Regions from separate parts of the Homo sapiens genome. Here regions 1, 2 and 4 are each linked to region 3. Evidence: promoter capture Hi-C in 16 types of primary human blood cells and fetal thymus (Javierre and others, 2016). All regions are on one chromosome and are shown on one strand. Each heading gives the region's core, a stretch centred on a gene start or on the middle of the fragment in contact. The rest is flanking DNA. Distances are from core to core; before and after follow the strand shown.

What was found. The method cuts DNA at HindIII sites, captures the fragments that hold promoters and counts their contacts. A CHiCAGO score of 5 or more calls a contact.
Region 1: a fragment that was not itself captured here is called in contact with the fragment with the promoter of HOXB1 in region 3 in 7 of 17 cell types (M1 macrophages, endothelial precursors, M2 macrophages and 4 more); the score reaches 8.8 in M1 macrophages.
Region 2: a contact is called between a fragment that was not itself captured here and the fragment with the promoter of HOXB1 in region 3, in 3 of 17 cell types (endothelial precursors, M1 macrophages and megakaryocytes). The highest score is 5.6, in endothelial precursors.
Region 4: a fragment that was not itself captured here is called in contact with the fragment with the promoter of HOXB1 in region 3 in 4 of 17 cell types (endothelial precursors, megakaryocytes, erythroblasts and 1 more); the score reaches 7.1 in endothelial precursors.

The regions. Positions count from the first base shown.
Region 1 is chr17:48,191,435-48,194,257 of GRCh38, forward strand. The region is part of intron 4 of SKAP1 (src kinase associated phosphoprotein 1); the gene reads right to left. Among named protein-coding and RNA genes, the nearest start is that of MIR1203, 36 kb to the left of the region's middle. RefSeq lists an enhancer at 735-1,352. The HindIII fragment of the contact is 2,282 bases long and covers 223-2,504 here.
Region 2 is chr17:48,173,967-48,176,782 of GRCh38, forward strand. The region is part of intron 9 of SKAP1 (src kinase associated phosphoprotein 1); the gene reads right to left. Among named protein-coding and RNA genes, the nearest start is that of MIR1203, 19 kb to the left of the region's middle. The HindIII fragment of the contact is 435 bases long and covers 1,309-1,743 here.
Region 3 is chr17:48,529,622-48,532,448 of GRCh38, forward strand. HOXB1 (homeobox B1) reads right to left here and starts at 1,390. Exons shown (of 2, transcript NM_002144.4): 1 at 707-1,390; 2 at 1-254. The coding sequence starts at 1,283. RefSeq lists an enhancer at 1,280-1,860. The HindIII fragment of the contact is 6,798 bases long and covers 1-2,827 here.
Region 4 is chr17:48,150,899-48,153,656 of GRCh38, forward strand. The region is part of intron 11 of SKAP1 (src kinase associated phosphoprotein 1); the gene reads right to left. LOC124904018 (a long non-coding RNA gene) reads left to right here. Exons shown (of 2, transcript XR_007065827.1): 2 at 1-1,978. Among named protein-coding and RNA genes, the nearest start is that of MIR1203, 4.2 kb to the right of the region's middle. The HindIII fragment of the contact is 218 bases long and covers 1,290-1,507 here.

The sequences.
Region 1 (2,823 bases), core at 114-2,613, 340 kb before region 3:
CATATGAATCAACTGGGCCACCTATAGAGTATCTTGAGAGTTATGGTTGAAATAACTTTTTTTCAAACAATTGTTTTTTGAACATTTCCTACAATAACATTTATTCAATGGTGGCTATGAGCTGGCACTTTGCTCAGTGCTTTTCCTACTTTTTGTTTTAAAATAACATCTACGACAATTTAAAATGCAATCAAAATTACATTTTGCTTTAAAGCTGTTTCAAGCTTAGTTATAAAAAGGTAGATCAGAAGAGCCTCTTTTTCTGTTTTTAAGTGTGTCTATGTGCCTGATTTTTTATCCAATTGGTCCTTATTGTTAACCTCCTTGTTCATGGACTACTTTTATTTGTGTGTTTCACAGTTAGCAAACTATGTGGTTGCCATAAATCCTTTTAATCAATCTCAGGGTGCACGCATGAGATGAACAGCAGCAAAGGAAAGTTCATTTTTCTAGGGTTCTTTCATTTCTCCTACCCCTCTGAAAACACCCTCCAAGGAAACAGTAGCAGATTCTACTGAGGGTGAGGCATTGAGTGGGGTGAGGACCAGTTACAGAAGAGAAGGCTCTCTGAAGTGCTGTCAAAAAATTGCTCCTGGGGAGGCCAGGTGTGGTGGCACAAACCTGTAGTCCCAGCTACTTGGAGGCTGAGGTAGGAGGATCTCTTGAGTCCAGGAGTTCAAGGCTGCAGTGAGCTGTGATTGAACCACTTCACAACAGCCTGGGGACAGAGCGAGACTCTGCCTCTTAAAAAAAAAAATTGCTCCTGGAGGCCTAAAAATTAAATGAAAGACATAGGGAGATGAGGAAAACACGATCCCATAAGCTGGGAGTTTCCATCTCTTCTTTCCACAGGTTTTTTTTTTCTTTTCTTTTTAAAGGTCTTGTTAAACTTAGAGACACAGCTCCTTGTCAAAGATGCCAAGAGTCTGAATCATAAAAGACATGTTAAACGTTCTATTAGAATTCAAACCTCCTTTTTTTAATGCAAATTTAAATGCCATTTTATGGAACATCTATAATTATGAAAATGGGAAGACATTGCCTCGTGTGCAGGGAGAGTCTGTGAGTATGAATATTACATTAATGTGCCCACACCAGCTCACTGATCCTGCTGGCAGGAGCATAAAAAATGCCTGAGTGAAACTTTTATTTAGATGTTAAGACTCCAGGCCCCAGCGGGGTGACAGAGACAGCCCCTGTGAGTTGCCATCAGAGAGAGAGCTTGAATTGAATTACCCAGGGGGGAGGAAGTAGTGATGAGCACTGCTTCGCTTATTTAATTTCATTTACTTTCAGTACATTATCAGCATGAGGTTTTTCTCTCCCCACCAACTGAAACCCAAGAATGCCACCACTAAGGAAACAAAGACATAATACAGCAGAGATGTAACTCTAAGTCACTAATTCTAGGAGACAAGGGATAGCACCATCACCACCTTCTCTCCCCAAGAGTCAAACTCAGTTTGCTAAAATTGGGTACCAAAGGAGCTGCTGAATTTTTTCTCTTGGTCATTCACTAACAAGATTCTGAAAAGGAATAGAGCTGGAAACAGCTTTTTATATGGTGTGTTTTTGTGTATAGTCAGTAAGATGTGTTATGTTGCTTTCTTTCTTTCTTTTTTTTGAGACAGAGTCTCACTCTTGTCGCCCAGGCTGGAGTGTAATGGTGTGATCTCAGCTCACTGCAACCTCCACCTCCCGGGTTCAAGCGATTCTCCTGCTCCAGCTTCCCAAGTAGCTGGGATTACAGGCATGCACCACCATGCCTGAATAGTTTTTTGTATTTTTAGTAGAGACGGGGTTTCTCCATGTTGGTCAGGCTGGTCTTGAACTCCTGACCCCAGGGGATCCAGCCGCCTCGGCCTCCCAAAGTGCTGGGATTACAGGCATGAGCCACCGCACCCGGTCTATGTTGCTTTCTTATTCATTAGACAGAATCTGTATTGAGGAATTCTCTTGCCTGGTTCCCCTTATGGGCAGTGGGAAAAAATGGGATTATAGGCTCAGTTTAGAATGTCTACGGAAAAAAAATTAGGAAATGAGGTCAGATCAGTCTCTAGTCTACTAACTGTCTTCTGTGTACAAGGTACTGTGTGGTGAGTTCAATAACAGAGTTGTTCTCAATGTAGTTGGCTCTGAGCTCAATCTCATTAGCTCCATGATCTATCTGACAAATCCAAATAACCAAGGTGGGAATCCACAGTGGCATGCAAGGTACCTCCTCTTTCAGTGTCAGCGCAGGGTCCTACTGATCAAGAACTAGTGATCCTGAGGATGAACAGTGTTAGCCATGCCATGGGGTGATGAGGCAGGAATCTTGTATGCCTGGATCCACACCTACTGGTAAACGAACAGATCTGCAGAGAACTACTTAATGCATAATAGAAAGTATGTAAAATATGCTTTAAAGGACGGTTATAAAAATAGGAAGAAGTTGCAAACAATTGTATAAGTTGCTATTTTAAGGCAAACAATTTATATTTAAGTATACAATTAAAAAAAGAAGCTTTTTATTCATTACCTGAGAAAAGATATCACCACCGTCATGAAAAAATAAAAATGATTTTGATTTATTGAGAATAAATGGCCCTCTTGGCTAAGTCTAAAGGTGTATTACATTATATCAGCACAAAACAGAATTACATTAGTGTCATAATCTCTCCCTACCACTACACTTAACTAAACCTCTCAGAACAGCCCGTATAAAGAAAAGATTCACTTAGCTGAAGGATATGGGGCCACAAAGATAAGATCAACAGAGAAGTATGTTACCCAGAAGTGATGGCCACCCAACTTTCATGGCAGATGAAGATAAAAGAAATT
Region 2 (2,816 bases), core at 276-2,775, 360 kb before region 3:
GAGAATGTAAATGTATTTGCAATGATAAAAATGAAAACTAAAACTTAATTCCTTTATTCTTTTGGGCAACAGCACTTAATCTAGTCATAATACAAAGATGGAACAATAGAAATGTGTTCTATGCAGTTCAGTTCCAGACCAGTTACTCTTGATTTCCACTGCACTTTTGGAATCAACTAGAAAGAAAAAAAAAACATTGGCTATAGAGCTTTTATATCATTCACCGCCATTACTAAGCTCTACGATGATGGATGTAAACGGGGAAGCTCCAATCCCCACATCTGTTTTATCTAACACCGTCCTTCCCAGGTGGCTGAAAGTAGGCTCAAATCAAGAAGCCTTCCCATTGATGGGCTTGGCGCTATGCCTCTGGGGTCTTTGGAAGACTGGGTAGGGGGCACTGTCACATAGTGAAGGAAAACACCATTCACAGCTGGTTGTGAAAATTACACCCCTAGACACCTCCCTAGGTTCAGAGGGCACAATACAAATAGGCATACAAGTTATCTCAGATCTTTCCATGAAACTGAACAGGTGTCTTTGCAACCCCAGAGTCAAAGACAACTATTATATGGCAACAGAAAAAAAGTCTTGTTGCTCACAAGAAGGGGTGGGTTAAATAGCTAAAGTTCTCATTTTTATTAATCTTTAATGTGACACTTTAATTTTAAGAGACTATTTTGAAAAATATTTTTTAGGCTAAAGAGCTTGTTGAATTTCTTTATAAGAATATTATTAGGCATTTCAGCATTATGTCTACTGAAATACATCTTCATTTAAGAGTGAATTAAAATTTATGTGCTAGCTCAACTTTAAACAGTAATGGATTATAATGGTCCTTGCTCCTAACAGGGCATATGGGACCCCAACCTTACATAGGTTTTAAACAAATTAACCTCTAAAGATTACTGTCCACTTATCACATTAAATGCTCTACTTGATCCCCAAATATCTCATCTCAATTGGGAAAACAGTTGAAGAAGATTCTGTTAACTGTGTGAACATGTAAGAGAACCATGGGGCATCACAAATGAGCATCAGTATCTGGAGAGTCGATTTCAATAAACATTCTTGGCACAATGTCAGGGACACTAATGAGAGGCTGAGAGGAATAGGACACTGAATCCACCTCAGAGGGACAGAGAGGAGCCAGCAGCTTCTCATGACACCTGGCTATTTTCTGAAGTGCTGCTCTGACACTCCTCTGACATTGGCTACACTGATATCAGAAAGAATAACATTAGAAAAAAATGACTAAATCAGAAAGAGGGGAAATCAGTTACTTCCCCAAATAAAGAAAGTGATAAAAGCTTCAAAAAATGCCAACTGTGTAAATGTGCAACCAGATGTCAAGGTGCTGTGGTGACAGATGCAACAGAAATACAGATAGACTCAAGGTGCAAAGGGGACATGCAGAAAAGTAGAAATAAACTGCTCCCCCGCATGCACAGATATGTTATAAATCCACGGATGTATAGCACCTCATCAGACAACATGCAAAATACAAGCAAGATGCTAATAACACATTTAATTCTCTGTTGTGTATTTGGTTATCTCAACTGTTAGCTCAAAATATTCGCATCCTATTTCAGTGATATGGGCTTGATGTATAAGATATTAAACTCAATTTGTGCTAACTGCAACACTTGGAATGCACTGAATTTAACTTCACAAATAATACCTAAGCATCTACTAACTGGGGAGAAAGACCTGAATACAAATCACTGGTGAGGGCTAAAACAAAGCTTAATTCCAGTTGAGTATCTGGGAAGGTGTCACTGAGGAGACATATTTGAGCAGAATGTGTATGATTTCACAGGCTGAGATCAGGGGGATGGTCTAGGTAGAAGAAACAACATGATTCTAGTTTTGGTGCTGGCCAAGCAGCACTGTGTGGCTGGGGCTCAGTGGGCATGGGAGTAAGACAGAGAAAAGGCCAGAAGTTCAGAGGAGGCCTGATGTTGGTGTTGACTCTTCCCTGATGCTCTTTCTTCATAAACTTTGTATTTTTGGTCTCTATTTTGTTTCATTTCCTTAGACTTCTTATCTTCACTGTTCCCCCTTCCTGTGGGTCTGAACAACTGTACAGGGGGAAAAATAATTCCACAGAATGCTTGTTTCCATTTGACTCAAAATTTTAAAAACTCAGTTATATGCTTTATTTTAAAGCAATCTGGTTTCTAGGTTTATAATAACACCCTGGGGCAGTGTGGGCAGCATTGGAATGTGCACAGAAATTCCCAAAGATGGCTCGTCATCTCTCTTTCCATTTGCTCTTCTGAAATCTCTCTAGAGAACACAGCCAGATTCCGTTGCCATTGCAGCTGCTACAAGGCCCCAGTTACAGCACTTCAATGGTCTCAGACGTCTTGCTGGATCCCAGCCTTGAGACCTCAGACAAAGCGAAACCTGACAAAAGTTGTCCTTTTATGGAATCTTGAATCATGGAGCTGGGCCTATGCTGGCCTGTAAAATAACTTCGGTGGTGGTGGTGGTGGTGGTGAGAGAGGGCTCAGAAAAGCCTCCATTTTCTACATATTGCTTTAGCATTTCTTTGTGGTAGTTCCCTGCAGTTTAATCTACTGCAAATGAGATCCTAAAAAAATCAAGGGCCCACATATGCTCAACACGGATGTTCAGAAATTCCACCAGATACCAACCTTGAAACCATATTTTCCAGGACTAACGTTTTTGTGGCCTGGCTGAAAACCTTGAGGGCTCTGGTTTTCCCTCAAGGGGAGAAGAGTGCTAGCCACATAGCAAATGCTAATTATCCCATGATTAATGTGATGGAGTGAGTTTAATGTGATGACCCA
Region 3 (2,827 bases), core at 140-2,639:
CTTGGGGCAGCCTGGTGGGGCTGGGGGGACCCGACCTTCCTCTCGCTCGCGCTTCTTCTGCTTCATTCGTCGGTTCTGGAACCAAATCTTGACCTGTGTTTCATTGAGCTCCAGGGTGGCGGCAATCTCCACCCTCCGGGCCCGGCTCAGGTACTTGTTGAAATGGAACTCCTTTTCCAGTTCTGTCAGCTGCCTTGTGGTGAAGTTGGTGCGGAGGCCACTGGGCGAGCCCAGGCCTGGCTCTGACACCTTCGCTAGGGGCGGGGCAGGGAGAAAGGCCAGGTCAATTCTCTCACCTCTTTCTCCTTCCGCTTCCCTCCTCCCGGGGCTGGCTCTGGACCTCCATTTGCCATTCTGCCCAAGTACAGTTGTCAAAGTTCCCAGGGACCACCAGGTACCCCCATGGTGATCACCAAGTCTGGAGCAGCCTTCCCCATACTTCCATCCCCCATGCACACCAGGTCCTGGGTCTGTGCTGGGTGCACAGATCAGGAAGTGGGGTGTGTATGGAAACTTACTCCTGGGGTGACCGGTTACATACTGGGTGGGGAGACCTCACCTGACCTGAGACGTAGGTTGTGCTCTTACCTGTGTCTACCAGAGCCGCTGAAAGAGAAGAACCCAGCCCAGACCCAGGACATGTCACTGCAGGGGAAGCAGAGATGCTTTGGGCCCCGGAGAAGGGGTGGCCACATCTGAGCCCTACCTGTCTTGGGTGGGTTTCTCTTAACCTTCATCCAGTCGAAGGTCCGGGCCGTGGGGGTGTTAGGTTCTGAAGGGCAGGGTGTTTCCTTGTCCTCGGAGAGGAGATCAGCATAGGCCGGTGCAAAGCTCGCGGTCTGCTCGTTCCCATAAGGGGGATGCTGCGGAGGATATGGCCCCGGACCGGCTCCACCTGCTCCGTAGCCATCGGACAAGCCCCCTAGCTGGGCCCCGTAGCTCGAGGGATGAAAATAGCCTCCGTCTCCTTCTGATTGACCCAGAGGGTAGTACTGAGAAGGCCCGTAGCTGGGGCTGCAGGCGGCAGGAGCATACCCCGAGGGCGCGGAGCTGGGGAAGGGCACCCCCAGGGTCGAAGGCGGCTGCTGGGCGGGATAGCCGGAGTTCTGCTGAAACGCAGGGCTGGACAGCCCCCCACCGTAGCGGCCCTCGCTTGCATAGCTGTCAACCGCCTGAGCCGAGCTTGGGGGAAAGGAGGTTGGGGCGCTGTGGGCGCTGTAGGCGCTGGGTCCCCGGTTACAGAGTGGGTACTCTAAGAAGGAGTTCATCCTATTATAGTCCATGCGTCAAGGCCGCAGGAGGGTCGGCCCGTTTGGGGGAGACACCCTCTTGCCCTACAACCTTTCGGCAGTATGTCACAGCGCTGGGGCTCGAATCCATGGCCTGACCCGCTCGCCTGGGCAAGCGCTTCCCTAGGAAGGGGGTAGGGAGTGGGGGTGAGGGGGCACATGTGATCTCTCCCAGGCCAATGGGCTAAGCGGGCCAGAGTTTGGCAGCCCCAGCGCCCATCCATCACCCCCCAAGCATTAGCATGACAAAGACACTTCAATCACCCGCAGCCCATCCATCTGAGAGCGACATGGAAGCGTCAAAAACATCTTTCTTCAAAGACTTTTGGAAAGAAGGGACCAGAGGGAGAGGGGGAAAAAGTTAGGAGAATATTCAAGACTTTCCTTCCCTCCCAACCCCCAAGGCCTTCAATAGGCTCCTGGGTTATTAGATTTGGACAAATTCAAGCCAGCTGCCCCTCACTCTTCCCACCCCTCAGAGAAACCTTCCCCCTAAGTCTGTGGACCTGGAGGTGGGGAATCCAGCTTCCATACTTTGCCCAGAACTCCCAAACCATGTTCCTTTCTTCCAATTTGTCTTAGGGTGGTGGGCTAGGACAGCCGGGTGAGGTATGTTATCTTGGGCCAAATGGATGACTGTGTGGTGGGGAGGTGGGGGAAGGTGGTGCAAAAACACCTAAGGGTGTGGGGCAGGATCTAGAATCTAGAGGAAGAATTCATGAAGCCAGGGGTGGGAAATTGGCATTTCAGGGAGCAAGGCAGGACTACAGAAATGTGGAGAAAAGGATGAGAAATGCCCCATCTTCCCTCTCTCTCTCTTTGCATAAATGTTCTCTCCTCATTCACACATCCATTTCTCTCCCTCAGCCTCTCTTTATATTCTCTCTGTCTCAATCCATCTCTCTGTTCGTCCATCTTTCTCCATATTTATATTCGTTCCCTACCTCTCATCTCTCTAGATGTATTTATCCTCTCTCTAGCCATCCATAGCTGTAGCTGGCTCACTCACTCAGACTTAAATAACTCCCTATATCTCTCTAGAGAGCCACAATGAGCACAGCCAGGTGATGTTTACAGCGGGGTGAAGAGGAGGGGAATTTTTTATTCTCTTCTTGAAGTGTTTAAAACTAGTGGAGACCTGCATTCTCCTGGTTCCCTCCTACCTGTCTCTCCTTCACCACCCTCCATCTCCTTCCAAAAAAAAAAAATTTCCAAACCTCAAATGCATAAATTTAATACCAGTTAAATCTTAAAGATTCCTCCAGATTTCAGTAATTTTTCTAGGATTGATAAAGGGAGTTTGGTCAGAGAGTGGGAGAATCGGGGTGGAGGCCCTGAGGCTCTGAATTCTAAGACTCCAGAGTGAGGAGTGGAGTCTCGCCCCTTTTTGTTCTGTGTGGCTGTTGCGGAGGGACACAGGATGTGTCTTCTTCACTCTCTCAGACTCCAAACCCAGATGGGACTAGAAGAGAAGCCCTTAGGTAGAGCCCATTGACTCTCCTCCTCCGGACAACTTGAGGGCAAGAGCTTGGGGCAAT
Region 4 (2,758 bases), core at 149-2,648, 380 kb before region 3:
TCCCACACTTGCTGTGGCTCCTGTGAACCTCGCAAGCCTTTCCATGACAACAGACGGGGATTTCACAGCCAGAAGACTTAGGAGGTCAACAGTTGAAAAGCAAGATTTAGAGAGATCTTTAAACAATCACACTAACCTCCCTCCCCTTCCAAAGACAGAAGGAGGAAAACATTTAAAGACGCAGCAGGAAAAAAAAAAAAAAAAAGAGCCTTTCTAAAAATGCAAGTTTAAAATGTTCATGCTTTTGTATCAGCCTAGTTGCACCTTAGAATCTGCCATTTCATAAATAAAATACCGATGGCATAGAGTATAATTTGGTGACAGCTACCCCAGGACATATCTAGATGCACTTCTGTTATTTTAATTAAATACTGCATTATGGTTTGTGACAACTACATAGCTATAGCGTAAATGAATTCAGAATTAAAGTGTTACTTAGGCATCCAGTAATTTTTGTTTCATTCCTTAGTTTTACAAAGCAAATAGCTATAAAATCAAGATGTTTGTTCATTTACAGATGGAGCAGGATTGTCGTCGCTGTTTTTTTCCTCCTTAATCCTCATCCACAAAAAGAAGACACAGTTCAGAGTCTGGCTCCCAACACTCTTAGCTTATGAGCCACATCACAAAGAAAAACACATCCTCTTGACTATAATGTGAAATGCTGAATATTAATTGCTGGTATTATGCCTATCTTTCTAGCTGGGTTCTGTCTTTTAACAATTATTCGGATGGGCTACAGCCTTGCACTGCCAGGAGATTCTTCTCCTTTGTTTAATAGTTAGAAACCAATTTTATTAAAAAACGGTAAAGTTCACAATGCTCCATGTAAGTTCTTAGTATTTGGAACTCTCCCCAAATACAGAATATTATCAGGAACAGAGAAACTGCAGACTCTCTTTGCTAAATATGATGAACATTTCTGCATTTAAAAGAAAAAAATATTTTTCATTTTAGCAATATTAATGTTTCCTTAATGAAACTGGAGAGGGTGTTACAATTTGATATACTTGGTTAGTTTCATTGTCACTTCACTAGCAAATCATGAGAAAGGTTCAGAATATTCTCATCTATCAGGTACAGATTTTCACTCAAAATTAATATGTAGAGTAAAAGGATTTTTGTTCAAATCTGAGGATTTAACTGTATCTTTAACGTTTCATATGTCAAGATGAAAGTTTTTAAATAACTAGTTTTCTGAAACCATTTCTATTATTTCTAATTTGAGAATCAATATGATCTTTTTATTAGCCTTAAATACCATACATCTGGGAATGTCTGCAAATTTAAGCTTTTCTGTGTTCTAATCAATTACCTTCAGTCTTGCATAACTAATCCTATAATCTCCATAGAAGTTACTGCCCTGTATGTTAGCAATGAGGTTATACTTTGTTTCAATATTTTGCTAGTTTGGTTGGAGAGCTGAATCACGCAATACCAAGAAATGGTGGCAGAAGAGGTTTGGGGAGGCTGAGTTTCTTTTGAGAAAATAATTATACTGAAACAAAGCTTTTGTGACTCCTTTTAAATAGGGCATCTCACCAAAATGTCATCCAGCCTCTTTGGCAGATTAGTGGGGAGTTTATTACTAAATCTCTGTCTAATAAATGTGCAGTTGACTCTGGAGGAGCTGCTTGTTATAATACTGGCGGTGGGAAATGGAGGGAATGTCACAGTTAAAGACACAAATTTTCCCCATAATATATTCAAATGGAAACCTCTGAATCCAATACTACATGGGCATATCTAATAAATTCACAATATTTCAGTTTCCGCAGCCTTCACCGGTTAGTTTTAAAGATTTATGTGGTAAAAAATTACTCAGTGATGAATATGGTTTATTCTGTGCAGTATTGGAGGTATAAGGAATTAAACTACCATCTTTAACAGTGAATTTATTATTACCTCTGTCAAAAGACGAAGACGTTAACAGCATTTGTTATAAATTCACTGCAAAATAAATGGCTGGAATTTTTTACACTGGAGTTTGTAAAGCATCGGGCAATTCTGAGCATTAACCTAACCCGGCCGTGGCTTATATGGTTCTAGGTAAACGTTTCTGTCTGGGCTTCGTAGTTAATTATCTGGTCTGGAATTTTCCCCAACTGAAAACTGTGTGCACATGGACACACACACACACACACACACACATACATACACAGAGAGAGAGAAAAGTGAAAGGTCTTGTCCAGGACAACTGTTTAGGAATAAATAGATTAGACTATTTATAGATAGATAGAATAAAATAAAATGCCAATTTTATTCTCTTTTTAAAAAATGGGTTTTAGAATAAATGGTCAGGGTTTGCAGGATGGGTTGATGAGCAACTGGGCCTCTTGTTAGCAGGTTTACATGCATGCATATGCACACACACATAAACACCCTCTCCCTTTTGTCCTCTCTTGGAATGGGTGTCCCCTCATTTATAAAAATTACCTGGAAGGAATGAGGCTGCCAGGGTTTGTTCTAGACGATTGGTTCCTGTCTGGGGGAAAGGAATGGCCTCTACTGAATTTGACCGGTATATGACCGTTGCCTTCCAGCTGACCCCAAATCCCATTCCCATCCTCCTAACTCCGTTGCCTCCCATAGGGGTTATTAATGAGAGAAAACACCATCATCATCATCTTCGTCATCACAGCACAGTGTTGACCTGCTTGTTAACATGAAATGGGGTGGTGGGGACAGCTTCTGCTTCTCTTGCATACCATCATAAATAAGAAAAGATACTTTGCCATAGGATCCCCTCACCCACCCC